Linked DNA regions of Homo sapiens: region 2 is linked to region 1. The links are contacts of gene promoters, found by promoter capture Hi-C in human tissues and cell types (Jung and others, 2019). All regions are on one chromosome and are shown on one strand. Each heading gives the region's core, a stretch centred on a gene start or on the middle of the fragment in contact. The rest is flanking DNA. Distances are from core to core; before and after follow the strand shown. Region 1 holds the start of TFAP2C (transcription factor AP-2 gamma). Region 2 overlaps SPO11 (SPO11 initiator of meiotic double strand breaks).

Region 1 (2,521 bases), core at 7-2,506:
ATTGATTATTGCAAAATCGTATTCAGTATCAAATAGAAATAGTCTTGTCCTCTAATCCCCACAGAATGTTTAAATCCAGCCCAGGGAGCCAGTTGGGGCGTCCCAACAAATACGCCCTCGAGAATTAGCGATGTTCCCCTTACAATGAAAGTCAATTGCTGCATAATAACTGGGCCAAAGAATTTCGTTAGTTTAAATTTTAAAAATTAGTATTGCACTTTGCTTTCAAGTTTGGGTGGCAAGTACCGAAGGGGAGAGGGAAGCAGCGTTTGTGTGGAAGGAAGTTTCGTTTTCTGTCTAAACATGTGGGACCTGGGTGTCTACCTCTCCAGTCGAGAGCTCTCTGCAGGCTCTCTCCCAACTTCCTGCACCTCCTCACCCTCACCTTACCCGTGGCGCTCGGGTTTTATTCCTGCCCGGCGCTTCTTTCCCAGGGCGAGTAGAGGCTTCTGAGTGACCGGCCCGCCAGAGGCAGCTGCAGAGCCGGCGTTCCGCAGGGCAGGGCAGGGCCGGGCCGCTGGGCTGGTCCAGTGCGCGCGGGTTCCCCCTGGCCTCAGCCAGCCGCGGGAGATGCCACTTCGGGCGACAGCGGCGAGACGCCGCTGTCCGCAACTCCTGGGCGGGTAGGACCGTCTGCTGCCTCTGCGGCCCTTGGGGCAGACTCCCCAGGAGTCCCTTCCTCTCTCCTCCCGCCCGGGGGCCGGGACCGCGCTGTGCCCACGGAGGGAACTGGGCGTCTCTGGCGCACTGGGGCTCCAGCTGCATGATCCCAGCTCAGACCTTAAGCCTCAGTGGGGTGTAGGTGGGATGGGATGTGTTTTTAGGAGATGAGGAGACCCCGGTTGTTGAGTCGCTCCCCAAATGCGCAGTTTCTTAACTCCAGGTGACATCCGTCTTTTGGAGGAACGAGTGAAGGCCGTTTAGGCGAAAGAGGGGTGGGTTTCAGTATTTGGATCCCTTCCCCCAGCTCTGCCAATCTCAGGTGTGTTTACGGTGGAGGTGACAGAAGGAAGGCGCGTCGGGGGACCCAGGCCTCGCAGGTCTTCGGCTGTCAACGAGGCACCGCCCACTGACTCCGCGCTTCGTCCCTCACAGCGTGGGGCTCGGCGCTGCGCCAGGCCCGGGTGCGGGGCGGAGCTAGGCTGGGACTGGCTGGGGGCCGCCCCGCCCGGCGCCTGGGCCTCCGCGCCGGCCCCCGGGGAGGAGTTATGATAATTTCCTTCTCATTAAGGCGCTCGGGTCCCCCGGCTATCGCCAGGACACACTGTTCGGGCGCGGCTTTCCCCGTCCGCGGAGCGGTCTTGACACTCGCGGCGGCAGCATCTACGCTCGCAGAGCCGCCGATGCGTGTCCAGTGACCCGGACAGCAAGGCCCGCGCGCGGCGGGGGCGGCGGCAGACGCCTGGTCACCGTGACCCCGATTTTGGATTTACCGCTTGGGGGCTGGGGGGATCCTGGATTTAACTGGCGACTGTTTTGGGGGACGCCGGACGCCATGTTGTGGAAAATAACCGATAATGTCAAGTACGAAGAGGACTGCGAGGTGAGCTGGGGCTCCGGGGTGCAGCCCCGCCCCGCCGAGGACAGTCCGGGAGGCAGGGGCCACTGGACCGAGGTCGGGGACGAGGGCATAGGAGCCCTGGCCTCTCGGTGGGACGGGATCCACTTCTCCGGACACCCCTTAGTCCATTTCTGCGGGGCCCCTTTCCTGTATAGGGCCTTTTCCTAAATAGCCTCCCCTCGGGAACGAGGCCTGGAAAGAGAATGGCAAATCCCACCCACACAGCTTACCGGGCGCTTTCCTAAGCGGCAAACAGCCCTGCTTCCCGTTTTCTCGGAAAAGTGCCCCGTCTGCAACCCTCAGACGTGGCTTTTACGCACGAAGTCTCTGTCCAAAGGGGTCAGATGAGGCTACCTGCTAGCGACACCTTGGCGGACACTCCTCCAAGGCCGGCTTGTCACCTGCCCCGCTACCTCCTCGGGGAAGCACGAAAACAACCGAAGTTTGGCTTTCAAAAGAAGTGGGGGCTGGGGAGTGGTGGTGGGGGTGCCCGAGGCCAGATGGGGCCGTAAGAGCTCGCGAGTGCTCCAGCCTGTCGGACAGGTTGAGCTAGAGTTTCGGAGAGTGGGAGGGAAGAAGGAGGCGGCGAGCGGGAAGAGGAAGAAGACGCAGGCAGCGCTAGGCGAGCTCAGGGGCGCCGGGAGCGCGGAGCTCGGGCTACGGACTCGCGGGAGTTCACTGCGCCTCCGGGCCCTGGAGGGCTGCCCCTGCCCGCAGGCCCGGGCGCTTCCGCCAGGAGGCGACAGCGCCATGTTCCTCCAGGTTCCCGGCGCCCCGAGACCCCTGGGCAGATGGGGACGCATCCTTTAGAAACTGAGTCGGGCCGCCCAGGGGCGAGGGAACGTGCGCGGGCAAGGCTGCCCAATTTCCAGGGTTCTTCATGCCCCCTCTGCGCCCCGACGTGCGAGAACACTGCCCTTGGCAGTGCAGGGCGCCCCCACTTATTACTCCCCTCGGCTG
Region 2 (2,521 bases), core at 13-2,512, 710 kb after region 1:
TTTAAACATGTTTATTGGATTTCTTTAAGTGGTGAGCAATCCTTGATAACAGTTGCTTGTTTCCTAAATATGGAATGTGAACAGGTTTTGGGTGATCAGCCACTTCCTATAAAATGAGGGTCCAAGAGGAAACATTTCATTCTTTATTTTTGAATATTCACACTCCACTGGATTAACGTGTTCAATTTAGTGTATGTGTGTCATGGTCAGAATCCCTTGGGGGTGATCTGTTTGTATAAAAACAATTTTAACACAAATTCAAGACATATGATCTGATAATTAGTAAGGTGAATAGCTTCAAGAAACTCTAGCTGCATCTCATAAATTCTATCAGTGCACTAAAAAGCCACTCCAAATGAATATACGATCAAAGGAAAAACACTATGGTAGCTACAGAAGCCAGGCTGCAAGGGAAATCCTCCAGGCCTCCCTTTCAATCAAATTGTCACCCCTATCCAAGAACTGCCCCTGGCAAATGGTCATAATTATGGACACATTGAAAAAGACTCTCCTGGGAAATCTAGGATTTGTGACTTCAAAAGGTAGTCCACACCATAAATCCAGGACCTCTCATGTTCTATTTTTAAAACACATACCATGATAAAGTTATATTCCACGTTTTTCAAATTTAAAACTAGATAGGTAAGAATGTGTTTGTGTGTGTGTAAAGTGATAAAAGTGTGTGTGTGTGTGTGTAAAATGATAAAAGTGAGACACTAACTTCCATGGCCCAGAATCTTCAAATGAATTATGAAGAATTAAATACTCAATGGAACCTAAAGTCCCTCAGTGAATCTCAGCCGTTGGCCATGCATATTGGAGCTCACTGCCAGAAGAGTGTGAAGCTCTGAGAGGCTTAATGTACATTATTAAGCTGCCCTGGTATCTGTATACCTGATGGTAGTGCTATTGGCATTTGTTTAATAACCAATATCAGTCTTCCTGTCATCCTGTCATCATCCCACGAGTGTGACATGAAGGAAAACAAAAACTTTAGAATCTTACTGTGGAAACACAAACTTCCACTATGAACTTGAAAACTTGCTGGTCTAAGACATGACAGATCCCTTCAATCCTGGATGTAAGAGGTAGATCTGTACTAATTTTCTTATTTCTGAGTTTCTTGAAGTAGTACCATAAATACAGGCAAAATACAGGACATTCAAGTTACAGAAACACTTTTTTACTGATTTTTTTCACCTACTTTTTTCCAGATTAAATGTACCTAAAGATAGTTTGATTCCACTGACAAAAAGGGACCAAATGAAACTTGACAGTATCCTGAGGAGACCTTATGTTACCTGCCAACCATTTTGGAGAAAAGAAGTATGTTTCCTTTTACAACTCAAGTGTTGCATGTTTAATTGTCTTTTACTTTAGTAGTGGCTATTCACATCGTATTTTGAAAATATCCCTCTTGAAATTTTATATGACACGACTAACATAAGTGTTGTTTGGCAGTAAATAGTTGTTGAAATTGAGTCATATGAATGCTAATAGATGAGATCAGTGAATGGAGCTGGCCTGTTTGTATCCTTATCATGGTTATATACACATTCTTGATGGCTGTATCATAGTTTGTGGGATTAAAAAAAGGAAGAAGAAATCATAAAGATTTCAGACTATCCCTAATTATTGAAGACAGCATACAGAGTACTCTCACTCCAGATATTTTTAGCTGTAGCAGCTCTGGAATATTCTGGCTGACCCTTAAGACTATTGTCCCTGGTTTTGGAGAATAAAGCAATTCTAGATTACTAGTTTGTTGAATTGACAGAAATGCAACTAAGAACTCTGGTATGAGTACATTTTACTTTTATTGACAGATGGAAATAATGGCAGACTCTAAAATGAAGGCAGAAATTCAAGCTTTGACTTTCCTATCATCAGATTATCTTTCCAGAGTGTACTTACCTAACAAATTAAAATTTGGAGGATGGATATAAAAATAAATCAGAAGAACTTCTGATTGCCAGAGGCTTTTCATTAGTTTTGTTTTGATTGGCAAATACTATTGTGGAAAGAACATATATTATATTCTTAATTCTGTAAAAGTGAAATAAAATAACTTTCCGTTAATTATATATTTTTGTCAAAACAAATGCTGTACTCCAATTTTCTTTGCAAGGCCTTATTCTTGCCTCTATAGAGACAGATTTCTGTCCTATCTTCTAAAGCAAATTATAAAAGAATATGTTATTTTGACCTTTAAATTATTTTTGAAAAAATAATATTTTATACATGTCATCAAAGTCTACAAAATATTTACCTTCTACGATACAACTAATGTTAACGCATAAAGTATCTTACTGGTAACAAAAATCATAATGATCTGAATTTGAGATGTTGCAAATGAATTGTGGTGTCCGGTAGTTTCTTCTTACATTTTCCTTTGCCTTTATACTTTAGGGGTCTTACTCCATTAATTCATTTGTTACATTAGTAAAATTCAGTATGAATAAATATTTGGATTGATGTAGTCTTCAGTGTTTTGCTTTATTTTGTATTGAGCCTATTTTTT

What was found. Contacts are between HindIII fragments. The study calls those that stand out against the background at their distance.
Region 2: a fragment that was not itself captured here is called in contact with the fragment with the promoter of TFAP2C in region 1 in 1 of the 25 tissues and cell types used here (mesendoderm cells).

What each region holds. Positions count from the first base shown.
Region 1 is chr20:56,628,050-56,630,570 of GRCh38, forward strand. It overlaps TFAP2C (transcription factor AP-2 gamma), which reads left to right and starts at 1,257. Exons shown (of 7, transcript NM_003222.4): 1 at 1,257-1,543. The coding sequence starts at 1,496. RefSeq lists silencers at 1,168-1,227, 1,284-1,578. The HindIII fragment of the contact is 13,903 bases long and covers 1-2,521 here.
Region 2 is chr20:57,341,515-57,344,035 of GRCh38, forward strand. It overlaps SPO11 (SPO11 initiator of meiotic double strand breaks), which reads left to right. Exons shown (of 13, transcript NM_012444.3): 12 at 1,215-1,326; 13 at 1,827-2,479. The coding sequence ends at 1,946. Among named protein-coding and RNA genes, the nearest start is that of RAE1, 8.5 kb to the right of the region's middle. The HindIII fragment of the contact is 5,962 bases long and covers 1-2,521 here.